Regions from separate parts of the Homo sapiens genome. Here region 2 is linked to region 1. Evidence: promoter capture Hi-C in 16 types of primary human blood cells and fetal thymus (Javierre and others, 2016). All regions are on one chromosome and are shown on one strand. Each heading gives the region's core, a stretch centred on a gene start or on the middle of the fragment in contact. The rest is flanking DNA. Distances are from core to core; before and after follow the strand shown. Region 1 holds the start of ZBTB39 (zinc finger and BTB domain containing 39). Region 2 has its middle 7.6 kb from the start of LRP1.

Region 1 (6,453 bases), core at 1,267-3,766:
AGAGAGGAGCAGATATCTTCACCGTTAACTGGCTGCCTTAGTTATTATAAAGGGAAAACATTTATCTCCCACTCCTCTCTAAAGTGCCTGTTACCAGCTCCTGCAGCTCTGACTTAACAGTCCCCAGAATGTGTAAGGCACTTACATGTGGTATGCATGGGTATGGATGTCTTTTACTAATCTATGATGTCAACTATCACCCGCCATCCTAAGGGGGGTTCTGTACCCTAATGGAACAGCCAGTGAAATCCTCAGGCTCCTTATCTTAGCGTGGTACAGGGGCCTTTGTTATGCCCCTGAATTGCACTGATAAAACATCAACACATAGATTTCCCAAGGCAGTGTAAGGACAGGGCCACAGAGCCAGAGGCCACTTCCTGCAGTCCTTTCATTCTAGTGAAAATTCTATCTTCCTACAGCCTGACTTGGGGCCACTTTGGAATGACAGCTGTATAGTGGGGGGCGGGGAAAGGAGGGAATACTCACCCTAGTATTACTTATGTCAGCTTTATAGCCAGAGGTCAAAGAATGCCCCCACCCCAGAGCCTAGACCCTTTTTCCAGTGAGTCATCTCTTTGACTTTTCAAAATTATCTATCTATAGGGCTTAAAACTGGGGACACTTTTGCAGAGTCTAGGGGCTTTCTCTGGGTCATGAAAGCTACAAGAGTTGGTTCTGCTCAGACTTGGTGGGAGTTAGGCTTATAGGCTGAGATGAGACAATTGCTTTGCAAGTAGGAACATTAAGTGCAGAAAGATTGCTCTCTAGTGGGACTGACAAAAATTGCAGTACTGGGGACTCCAGAAAAAAATGAAGACAAATGTTAAGTTAGATTCCTGTGTTTGTACTTGAAGAATGTGTGAAGGGATCCTGACCCTCCCTTTCCTGTTGTAAAACAGTTGATGCCTAAAGAGATCTGGTCCACAAGACCTTGACTAAATTCCTGGCCCTTTCTTCTCCATTTAACTTTGTATATGTTTGTTATTGTGACTATATGGTGATTTACTTTAAAAAGACTTCAGTATAAGTGGTATATACTTTCACCTGCGTCTTTTGGATGATTTGTTTTCATGTGAAGTTTATTGGGGTCAACCCTCCAGAGATGGCTGGGGCAGTTGGTTAGAAAGACTGTATAGGCCCAGGCCCTTGCAAGCCCAGCAGCCCTCTGTCTCCAGAGTCATGCTGGAGGTCTGGACCTGCTGGCTGTGTGATATTCCACTTTAGGGAGACTCAGTCACCTTGCACAACTGTGAGAGCTGGGCCTGCCACTGAAACATTGTGTCAACCTCTAAGTGACCCTTTCACTAGATGGTAAAGTGAGATGCCTCATCCCCAAACTATAAGAACAGTTCTATGGCTGTTTTTGTATCTCCTGGCTAACAAATGTTACATGTTTGGCAGCATTTGGTATAGTGCTTGCTTTCAGTATAGTCTGCCACCAGTTAATGAGGTTGTGGAAAGGAGGACACACAATCTCCCAAATTCATCAAGAGAATGGACAATTGCTGAATGGCCAAACTGGCTTAGATCTGTTGGCAACATTCAGTGTGTCCCTTCCTTTCCACTTATCCATCAAGGAATTACTGAATCCTACCATGCGCCTGTCCTGGGAGTTTGTCCTTGGCTGCAAGCTATTTTCAGGCAGTGACTGGGATGGGATGGGAGAGAGGATGAAACTGAAGGGTCTTGGAGCCTAAGAGCTTCCTCTGTACTGAGGGAGGGAGGGCGACATGACGAAGACTTCTAATGTCTTTGGTGGTGGTGGGTGGGGCAGGCAGTGTAGGTGGTTTTCGTTTGATGACAATTCTTGGGCAGAAGCATTTGAAAAGATGATTTGGGAGAAGGGTGGGGAGGAAGAGTGATCGAGTTCTACACAGAGTTGGGGAGGGCAGGCTTCAGGAAGCAGGCCTGGGGTGCCAAAGTACAGTGAGATCCGGTGACTTTCTTCATTTGGCCACCTAGATGGAAGGAGGGACAGCAGTGGATTATCAGAAGGGTCCAGTAGTAGCGGTCTAGCCCTCAAGTGCTCCTTCATTCATTCAAGCAGGCTTAATGTATTAAGCACTTATTGTGCCAGGAAGTGTGGTAAGGGTCAGTGTGGACCTGCGGCCGTGTGCAAAGCCACAGATCCCTGCCTTCAGGAAGCCCACAGCCTAGTGGAGGAGATATATAGTAATCAAACAATCTTACAACATTTTGTAAAATGCCCATAGTAGATGTTCTGAGGAGAAGCTTTTGGAACTGTGAGCGTAGAACAGGGGAGGTGAAGAGAGTTTGGATAGGGTTTTTCACTCTTCAGGCACCAAGTCCCGCGCACAGTGGATGGGCGCTTAGAAAAAGCCAGCCTGGGGACTTGGAAGCCCCTGCACCCCTCGCGCAGGTCCTGGACCCGGCCCCGCCGTGGGGGGGCGCTGCCTCCTCCCGGGCGGCGGGGGGCGCTGCGGCCGGGCGGCGGGGGGCGCTGCCTCCTCCGGGACGGCGGGGGGCGCTGCGGGCCGGGCGGCGGGGGCGGCCCGGGCCGTCGCGGCGAGCCGCGCGGCGGATGGAGAGTCTGGCCGCGGCCGGCGGCGCCGCCTCCTCGTCGGGCCGGGCACGGCGGGCCGGGGCCTTTGTGTGAAGCGGCGGCGGCGATGGTGCTCGGGGCGCCGCAGAGCCGGGTAAGCGCGGCCAGGCCGAGGGCTGCCCCTGGCCGAAGCCCGACCTTCGGCCCGGCATTTATCTCGCTCTTGCTGGGGTCCCTCTTGCCCGCTCCCTTCGGCCGGACCCATCCTCCCCGCCCGCGCGCCGACCCCGGCCGGCCCCGCCGCCCCTCGCTTGGCCCCTTATTCAGCCCCATGCCCCCAACAGGCTCACCCGGGTGAGCCCCGCGCTGTTTGTGGAGGGACTGAGGCGCTCGTTGCCTCCAGAGGGAGCGCCCCAGCCGATGCAGCGCCCTTCCCTCCCAGATGCGACTCCGGAGGGGAGACCGCGGCGCCCGGGGATTGTTGGGGTGTCCTTGGAAGTTCCCAGCTTCCCCCTCTCCCACCCTCTCCTCTGGCTGCCCAGTGCTCCGACCCGCCCATCGTTCAGGGGTGGCCACCAGGGCCCGGGAGATGCTTGGCCGGTACCCCACAATACTTAGACGCTTCCTGGGCCCCAGAAAAAGTTGGGAGTTGTTAGAATCTGGAGAGATGGAGAAAGGGGCTGTGTTGGGCAGAGTTGTGAGACTGAACAGGGATGCAAGTAGCTCTTCTTCCTTAGTCGTGCAGGAGTCAGAAAGGGCAGAAAGTGGTAGTGAACAAGCCTCTAGGAGTCTTACCTGTATAATTAGAAGTCTTTCTTGCGGCATCAAGTAAATCTGTTAGTGCAGGGACAACAAAATATAAACCCCGAAAAGGGTGGCGAAAAAGAATACAACATATTAAAGTAATATTAAATACTACCACAGTTGTGTTCTACTTTTCTTACTGTGCATTCTGAGTGTTTTAACTTCACAGAATACAGGGACTGTGATAAAGCAATATCTGGAGGGGCTCTGGGTTATCGAAAGGCCAGAGAGCGGGTATGTAGTATAGGCAGAGAGAGATGGGGATTCAAGAACGTGAGATTTATTTGGAGATTATTGAGAGGTTGAAGACACAGCAATGACAAAGCTAAAAAACGGAACCACCTTATATGTTCCTCAGTAGCTAGTGGAGCTTTGATAGTTGTGTTCAAGCATGTGCATGGTATTTGGCATCATGAGGGAAAAGAATATGCTCAATGAATTAGGAAAGCTTGTATTTGGGAGGAAATTAATAGGAGAAAAATTTGATCCAGTGGCTCTGGTAATGAAGTATAAGATTGTGTCCAAGGGAATGCCTCTGGTTCGTCTCTAGGCACCAGCTTAAAACCAAGCTATCAGATTGTCATCAGTCGTTTTGGTTTTTGTCATAACTCTTTGAGTATATACAGGGGGAGATGTCATTGCCTTGTCATAATGGAGGAACTCTCCATGCCAGTTTACTCCTGATCCCTACCTGGGGCTTGGAAGCATTCAGAGTGATGGTATTTTCTCCTGCATAGCCCCTCTTTTGCACGGATGTGTTTGGCCATCCATCTTTTTCTCTTGCTATCCACAGATTAACTGTGCTGATAAGGAGGTAATTTCATAGGAGCTGCTAAGATGGGCATGAGGATCAAACTGCAAAGCACCAACCACCCCAACAACCTGCTGAAGGAACTCAACAAGTGCCGGCTCTCAGAGACCATGTGCGACGTCACCATTGTGGTGGGGAGCCGCTCCTTCCCGGCCCACAAGGCTGTGCTGGCCTGTGCAGCTGGCTACTTCCAGAACCTCTTCCTGAATACTGGGCTTGATGCTGCCAGGACCTATGTGGTGGACTTCATCACCCCTGCCAACTTTGAGAAGGTTCTGAGCTTTGTCTACACTTCAGAACTCTTCACAGACCTGATCAATGTTGGGGTCATCTACGAGGTAGCTGAGCGTCTGGGTATGGAGGACCTCCTCCAGGCCTGTCACTCTACCTTTCCTGATCTGGAGAGCACTGCCAGGGCCAAGCCCCTGACCAGCACCAGTGAGAGCCACTCTGGTACCCTGAGTTGTCCTTCGGCAGAACCTGCCCATCCCCTTGGAGAACTCCGAGGTGGTGGGGACTACCTTGGTGCTGATAGAAACTATGTGTTGCCCAGTGATGCTGGAGGGAGCTATAAAGAGGAAGAGAAGAATGTTGCCAGTGACGCTAACCATAGCCTGCATCTGCCGCAACCGCCCCCACCACCGCCAAAGACAGAAGACCATGACACCCCTGCTCCCTTCACGTCCATTCCTAGCATGATGACCCAGCCACTCCTAGGCACTGTCAGCACGGGCATCCAGACCAGCACGAGCTCCTGCCAGCCATACAAAGTTCAAAGCAATGGAGACTTCAGTAAAAACAGCTTCCTCACCCCTGACAATGCAGTAGACATTACCACTGGGACCAACTCCTGTCTGAGCAATAGTGAGCACTCCAAAGATCCTGGCTTTGGGCAGATGGATGAGCTCCAGCTCGAGGACCTGGGGGATGATGACTTGCAGTTTGAAGACCCTGCTGAGGATATAGGCACAACTGAGGAGGTGATTGAGCTGAGTGATGACAGTGAGGATGAGTTGGCTTTTGGAGAGAATGACAATCGGGAGAATAAGGCCATGCCCTGCCAGGTGTGCAAGAAAGTTCTAGAGCCCAACATTCAACTGATCCGGCAGCATGCTCGGGACCATGTGGACCTGCTGACGGGCAACTGCAAGGTCTGCGAGACCCACTTCCAGGACCGAAACTCCCGGGTAACTCATGTCCTGTCCCACATTGGTATTTTCCTTTTCTCCTGCGACATGTGTGAAACTAAGTTCTTTACCCAGTGGCAGCTGACCCTTCACCGACGGGATGGAATATTTGAGAACAACATCATTGTCCACCCCAACGATCCCCTGCCAGGGAAGCTGGGTCTCTTTTCAGGGGCAGCCTCCCCAGAGCTGAAATGCGCTGCCTGTGGGAAAGTATTGGCCAAAGATTTCCATGTGGTCCGGGGCCACATCCTTGACCATCTAAACTTGAAGGGCCAGGCCTGCAGTGTCTGCGACCAGCGTCACCTTAACCTCTGCAGCCTCATGTGGCACACGCTGTCCCATCTCGGCATCTCAGTCTTCTCCTGTTCTGTCTGTGCGAACAGCTTTGTGGACTGGCATCTTCTAGAGAAGCACATGGCTGTGCACCAAAGTCTGGAAGACGCCCTCTTCCACTGCCGCTTGTGCAGCCAGAGCTTCAAGTCAGAGGCTGCCTATCGCTACCACGTCAGCCAGCACAAATGCAACAGTGGCCTTGATGCACGGCCTGGTTTTGGGCTGCAGCACCCAGCTCTCCAGAAGCGGAAGCTGCCAGCAGAGGAGTTTCTGGGTGAAGAGCTGGCGCTGCAGGGCCAACCTGGGAACAGCAAGTATAGCTGCAAGGTCTGTGGCAAAAGATTTGCCCACACAAGCGAATTCAACTACCACCGGCGGATCCACACGGGGGAGAAGCCATACCAATGTAAGGTGTGCCACAAGTTCTTTCGAGGCCGCTCGACCATCAAGTGCCACCTAAAGACACACTCGGGGGCCCTCATGTACCGCTGCACAGTCTGTGGGCACTACAGTTCCACCCTTAACCTCATGAGCAAACATGTTGGTGTGCACAAAGGCAGCCTCCCCCCTGACTTCACCATCGAGCAGACCTTCATGTACATCATCCATTCCAAAGAGGCGGATAAGAACCCGGACAGTTGACTGGGTCCCGGCAGAGCCACGGGGAGCTCCCAAGCAGCAGCCAGGATGCTGATATCTAAGAGGTGTTGGTCCCTCCCCAGCTGAAGTTATAATTTTGCCTTGGTAGGAATTCTGTTCTGTGTTGTGTTTAAAGAAGAAAAGAAGAAGAAATAGCACATAAGCTGTTACTG
Region 2 (7,087 bases), core at 3,261-5,760, 110 kb before region 1:
GGCGGAGAGAGGGAAAAGGACCAGTATTTATTGAGCGCATACCATGTCCCAGGCCCACGCAGTGGACTTTATTTACAGTATCAGCTCACTTAAGTCTACCTTTTGTCATGGGTGTTATTTCCAGTGTGTATAAGAAAATAGAATGTTCTGAGAGATTAAAGAATCTGTCCCAAATAATGGTGCAGATCCAAGCCCAGATTTCATTCACTTAATAAAAATATTAGGTACCTCGTATAAGCAAGTACATTGCTAGGCACTAGGGATAAGAGACGGAAACACACAGTCTCAGCCTTCAAGAAGCTTTCAGGTTAGCTGGGTGCTCAACAAGAGACAGACAATGACAATACAGTCAGTTCCTTAACACCTGTGATGAAGGCATGTGCAGAAGGGCATGGGAACATGGGAAGGATACCTCTTCCAGACAAGGTGGTCAAGACAGAGAGCAGCAGATGATGCCAGGCTAAATGTTGAATGAGAGGAAGAAAATGACAACCAATAACAAAAGGAAAGGGTGTTTTAGGCTGGATGGCAGGAAAGGCATTGGAGGCATGAGAAGTTTAAAACATGTGAAGAACATCAAATATGGTATCATAGCTGAAGTTTAAGGTACTTTGAGGGGAGAGTGTTGGATGAAGTATCAGAAAGCCTAATCACAAAGCGTGATTTTAGCCACAGTAAGGACTTAGAATTTTTTTTCTAGAAGTAGTGTAGAGCCAGTTGAGAAATTGGTGAAGTCCTTAATGCATGAGTGATGGAGCTGGAGAGGAAGAGGATTCAGAAACAATAAAGAAGTAGGATCTAGTATACTAACCAGTTAACTGTATAGGCCTGAAGATAGTGACAGAGAAATCTGAGTCTAGAAAATTTGGCTCACATTAGAATCACCTGGAGAGTTTTTAAAAATCCCAGTGCTGTGGTGGCATGCATCTGTAGGCCCAGCTACTCAGGAGACTAAGGTGGGAGGATTGCTTGAGCTCAGGAGGTTGAGGCTGCAGTGAACCTGATCACTGCATGATCATGCCACTGCACTCCAGCCTGGGTAACAGAGTGCAACCCTGTCTCAAAAAGAAAAATAAATGAATCAATGCTGGAGGATTTATGCTACTTGATTTCAAGACTTGTAAGTGACAGTAATCAAGACTATGTGGTGCTAGCATGAGAATTGACAAACAGATCCATGGAGCAGAATAGAGAACCAGAAATAGACTCACAATCATTTGATTTTTTAATAAAAATTCTATATGCGTTTATTATTTTATAATGTTACTTTTATATACTTTTATCTTGGAATTATTTTTCGTTTGATTAGTTTTCTATGCATCTATCATTTTCCCCAAATATCTCAACATAATTTTAAAAAATCAGATAGTTGTTTGATTTCTTATTGCAATTCCTTTGTGTTTACCACCCCTCCACCCTGCTCATCCCTATCTCACCCTGTGCAACTTCTGCATTCTTGCTTCAATGTTGACTAGGCACAGGCTTCGTTTTTCTTTTTGAGACAGAGTTTTGCTCTGTTGCCCAGTCTGGAGTGCAGTGGTATGATCATAGCTCACTGCAGCCTCAACCTCCTGGGCTTAAACTATTTTCCCCTGTCAACTTCCCAAGTAGCTGGGACTACAGACACATGCCACCATGCCTGGCTTCAGCATCCATTCTTAAACTCCTTTTCACCATTGATCTGGGATTTTACTCTTAGCTGGAACCTGTCTGAGACCCGACTATTGGAGGTCTCTTACTGCTGGAGGATGGTATCTCTGGGAAAGGCCCACTCCCAGACCCAGGAATGTAGGATCCATCTCAGTGCAGCTTTTCTCAGCTCTCTACTTGTCTGGGGTACCACACTTCTCAACCGGATTCTGTACTTCTCATAAAGGTATTTTGATCAGTAAATTGTTAAATCTGTGTTTCTGTGAGGGGATGAGAGGCGGGACTTCGTATTGCACCAACTGGCTGATCCCACTGTAAAGGTCATTTGATTTTGGCAAAGATGTCAAAGCCAGCCAGTGGAGAAAGGAATGTCTGTTCAATAAATAGTTATGGAACAACTTCATATCTATATGGGAGAAATAAATGAACCTTGACCCCTACCTCACACCATATGCAAAAATTAATTCAAGATTGATTATAGGCTGGGCCCAGTGGCTCACACCTGTAATCCCAGCACTTTGGGAGGCTGAAGCAGTTGAATCACCAGAGGTCAGGAGTTCAAGACCAGCCTGCCCAACATGGTGAAACTCTGTTTCTACTAAAAATACACAATTAACAGGCCAGGCATGGTGGCTCACACCTGTAATCTCAGCACTTTGGGAGGACAAGGCGGGTGGATCATCTGAGCTCAGTTCAAGACCAGCCTGGCCAACATGGCAAAACACTGTCTCTACTAAAAATACAAAAATTAGCTGGGCATGGTGGTGCATGCCTGTAATCCTAGCTACTCAGGAGGCTGAGGCAGGATAATCGCTTGAACCTGAGAGGCGGAGGTTGCAGTGAGCTGAGATCACACCACTGCACTCCAGCCTGAGTGACAGCGAGACTCTGTGTCAAAAAAATTAATTAATTAAAAAAATAAAAATACAAAAATTAGCTGGGTGTGGTGGTGGGCACCTGTAATCCCAGCTACTCAAGAGGCTGAGGCAGGAGAATTGCTTGAACCCAGGAGGTGGAGGGTGGAGTGAGCCGAGATCGCGCCACTGCACTCCAGCCTGGGTGACAGAGCGAGACTCCGTCTAAAAAAAAAGATTGATTATAGACCTAAACCACAAATGCTAAAATCATAAAGCTTTTAGACAAAAACACAGAATATCTTCATAATTTGGAGGAAAGCAACCCCTTCTTAAGCTATAGAAAGCAATAACATAAATTTCTTGATAAGTGAAACATCAAAATAGAAAACTTTTGCTCGTCAGAAGACATCATTATGGAGTAATCCCAGCACTTTGGGAGGCTGACATAGAAGAACTGCTTGAGGCCAGGAGTTTGAGACCAGCCTGGCCAACAAAGCTAGACTCTGTCACTACAAAAAATTTAAAAAATTAGCCGAGTGTGATGGTGTGCACCTGTAGTCCCAGCTACTCCAGAGGCTGAGAAGAGAGGATTGCTTGAGCCCAGGAGTTAGAGGCTGCAGTGAGTTGATTGTGCCACTGCACTCCAGCCTGAGTGACAGTGAGACCCTGACTCAAAAAAAAAAGACATTATTATGAAAATGTGGAAGTAAGCCAAATAGATAGACAAAACATTGATCTGAGAAGGGACAGAGGAATGCGAGATATATTAAAAATTCCTATAACATAGTAATAAAATGACAACCCAATGAATGGACAATAAGCATATGAAAGGTACTCGAGGCTAGGTGCAGTGGTGCACGCCTGTAATCCCAGCACTTTGGGAGGCCAAGGTGGGAGGATCGCTTGAGGTCAGCAGTTTCAGACCAGCCTAGGCAATATATCGAGACCTCATCTCTACAAAAAGTCCGGGCGTGGTGACTCACGCCTGTAATCCCAGCACCTTGGAAGGCCGAGGCGGGCGGATCACGAGGTCAGGAGTTCAAGACCAGCCTGGCCAATGTGGCCATACCCTGTCTCTACTAAAAATACAAAAATTAGCTGAGCATGGTGGTGGGCACCTGTAATCCCAGCTACTTGGGAGGTTGAGGCAGGAGAATCACTTGAACCCAGGAGGCAGAGGTTGCAGTGAGCTGAGATTGTGCCATTGCACTCCAGCCTGGGCAACAAGAGCAAGACTCCATCTCAAAATAAATAAATAAATAAAATTTAAAAATGATCTAGATATGGAGGTGCATTCCTGCAGTCCTAGCTACTCAAAAGGCTGAGGCAGGAGGATTGCTTGAGCCTAGAAGGTTGAGGCTGCAGTGAGCAGTGATTGTGCCACTGTGCTCCAGCCTGGGCAACAGAGTGAGACCCTGTCTCAAAAATAAAAAGAAAAAAGAAAAAGAAAAGAACTCAACATCTTTAGTTATTAAGAAAATGCAAATTATGCCAGGCACGGTGGCTCACGCCTGTAATCCCAGCACTTTGGGAGGACGAGGCAGGAGGATCACAAGGTCAAGAGATCTAGACCATCCTGGCTAACATGGTGAAACCCTGTCTCTACTAAAAATACAAAAAATTAGCTGGGCGTGGTGGCGGGCGCCTGTGGTCCCAGCTACTCGGGAGGCTGAGGCAGAAGAATGGCATGAACCCAGGAGGTGGAGCTTGCGGTGAGCCGAGATCGTGCCACTGCACTCCAGCCTGGGTGACAGAGCAAGACTCCGTCTCAAAAAAAAAAAAAAAAAAAAGGAAATTATATCCATAGTGTGATACCTCTCAATACTCACCAAAATGATTAAACTTTAAAAAACTGACAATACCAAATGTTAGTGGGAATACAGAGCAACTGGAACTCTCATACATCATTAGTGGGAATGTAAAATGTACTATCAATTTGGAACAATATGTAGCAGTTTCTTATAAAACTACACATACACCTACCCTGTGACTCAGCAATTCTATTCCTAGTTATTTATCCAAGAGAAATGAAAGCATATGTTCACACACAGACTTGAACACAGAATATTCATAGCAGTTTTCTTCACAGTAGCCAAAAGCTGGCTATAGCTCAGGTATCCTTCATTTGAAAAAGGATAAACAAACTGTGGTATAGATCCACCATGGGACACTACTCAGCAAGAAAAATGAAAGAACTATGGATACATGCAGCAACATGGATGAACCTCAAAACATGTTGCGTAAAATAAGCCAGACATAAAACTACATCCTATATTACTCTACTTAAAAAAAAAAATCAGAACAGTGGCTTCCCCTGTGGGTTGGGGTGAGGGTAATGATCCACATCTTGATAGAAGTTTGGGTATTACAAAGCAACCACCTGGTAGGGCAGAGATTTGAACACAGGTGGTCTGCCAGCGGCCAAGGTTTTAATCACCATACTACATAGCCTTGCCCAGGCTGTGGAGCCTCAGATGTGGATGAGATCACACAGAAAGAGTGTCCCGTGAAGACAGGAGACTGAGAGGGAGGACGCAGAGAGGTAGGCCGAAGACCAAGAAAGGAATCATGAAAAGTAGTTGGGGGAGAACTTACTCAAGAATGGCTAACAGTGTTGAGTACTGCTGAAAGGCCCAGCAAGAGAAAGACAGGAATGTGCCATCATTCAAGGCCCCTAGGAGGGTGTATGTGACATGGGCCAGGACAGTTTCATGACTGGTGGGGGCAGCAGCCAGCTGGCAGTGTAATGAGGAAGTAAGGAAGAGAAGACTGAATATGAATAATTTTCCCAAGATGCTTGGCTGCACAGGGGAAGGGAGAGAGGCAAGACAGTAATTAGAGAACTGAGATTTCCTTGCAGAGGCACAATCCTGACCACAGCTGACTCCATCCAGAGCTGCTTGACTTTGCCCATTCACCAGGATGGCTAACTTGTCCTTCTGTGAAGTAAAGGTCGGTTGGCCACAGTAAGCCTCTGACAGCCTGAGGGCTCCATTTGAAGCCTTGAGATCAGCTGACTCCACCATTGCTCACATCCTGTCATCCTTGGCAGGCCTTGATTGGCATCCATCCTTCTCCACTAAGTCCAGTCCTTCCTCCTCCTAACACTGTTATACTGCTCTCCACCCATCTCCTTGCTTGAAGCCTGGGGCCACCCCTGGCTCACATTATCCTGGCCCCTCTTGGCTTGTCTGGAACCTGATCCTTCCTTGAGAACATTCCTCCTTTAATGAGGTATCGCTTATTCTCTCAAGTGTATAGGGCGGGTGGTAGTGGGAGGATGGGCAGGCAGCCCACCCTGGAGTCTCCATTTCCTGTGGCGATATAGCTTCACCATGGTCTTAGTTAGGGATGCATTTAGCAGCAAGTAATGGAAGACCCAATTAAAGCAGGCTCAACAATGAGGAGTTTTATAGCAGGTCCAGGGCTGGTTGATTCATCAAAGGTTTTCCACCTCTTCACACTCATACTTTATCCTCATTGGTTGGTGGTATCTCCCCTCCCAGTTGCAACGTGGTTGCAGCTATTCCAATCCTAAAAGTGAACATGGCACTGAAGAAGAACAAAATCTTTCCCAGAAGCCCCCTAAGTCCTATTGGCCAGGATTGGGTCACTGGCCAAGGGAATAGAAATACTGTGATTGGCTATGCCAATTAGATTCACCCCGTGAATACATAGGAGGGGGACACCTGTGTGAAATCCAGACTTTGCTAGCAAGGGAGAAAAGCTTGGCTGCTGAATAGGCACCACCAGTGCTTGCCTCAGTAGTCACATCAAATTCCTCTTCCTTTAAGAGCCAACTATTTCACCTTCCATTGGGATGTGCAACATAGGGCTTAAGGGCAACATTTCTGGTGCCAAACTAACTGGATTTGAATCCCAGCTCTCTCACCTTAGCCTTGAGCAAGTTGCTGAGTTTTCCATGCCAGTTTCCTCATTTGTAAAATGAGGGTTATCAGCACTATCCAATAGAATTTTCTGTGATGATGGAAATGCCCCGTGTCTGTTTTAATATAGTAGCCACAAGTCATACATGGCTATTGCACATTTGAAATGTGGCTGATACATCAGAGGCATTGAATTTTAAAATTGAAATAGCCACAAGTGGTTAGTAGCTACTGTAGTGGGCACATAGTTCTAGCTCATAGTATTATTGTAGGATAAAAAGTACAGTGCTTCAATTTTAGAGTAAGAATTGAAGTAACACATAAAGCCCCACTAAGTGTTAGTTATTATTTTTGCTGTTATCCACTGATGTCCTGGTCACTTTATCCGTGAAGTCTTTGTTTATTTTATTTTATTTTAATTTTTTTGAGACAGGCTCTCACTCTGTTGCCCAGGCTGGAGTGCAGTGGTGCAATTATGGCTCACTGCAGCCTTGACATCCTGGGCTCAGGGATCCTCCCACCTCAGCCTCCCCAGTGGCTGGAACTATAGGCATGCACCACCACACCAGGCTAATTTTTGTATTTTTTCGAGAGACGGCATTTCACCATGTTGCCCAGGCTGGTCTCAAACTCCTGGCCTCAAGCAGTCTGCCCACCTCAGCCTCCCAGAGTGCTGGGATTACAGGCATGAGC

Evidence for each region. The method cuts DNA at HindIII sites, captures the fragments that hold promoters and counts their contacts. A CHiCAGO score of 5 or more calls a contact.
Region 2: a contact is called between a fragment that was not itself captured here and the fragment with the promoter of ZBTB39 in region 1, in 9 of 17 cell types (erythroblasts, naive CD4 T cells, endothelial precursors and 6 more). The highest score is 8.3, in erythroblasts.

Annotation. Positions count from the first base shown.
Region 1 is chr12:57,002,609-57,009,061 of GRCh38, reverse strand. It overlaps ZBTB39 (zinc finger and BTB domain containing 39), which reads left to right and starts at 2,516. Exons shown (of 2, transcript NM_014830.3): 1 at 2,516-2,657; 2 at 4,101-6,453. The coding sequence starts at 4,145. The coding sequence ends at 6,283. RefSeq lists silencers at 2,318-2,677, 2,698-2,847. The HindIII fragment of the contact is 1,523 bases long and covers 2,235-3,757 here.
Region 2 is chr12:57,117,308-57,124,394 of GRCh38, reverse strand. No RefSeq gene overlaps it. Among named protein-coding and RNA genes, the nearest start is that of LRP1, 7.6 kb to the left of the region's middle. RefSeq lists an enhancer at 5,257-5,446. The HindIII fragment of the contact is 3,452 bases long and covers 2,785-6,236 here.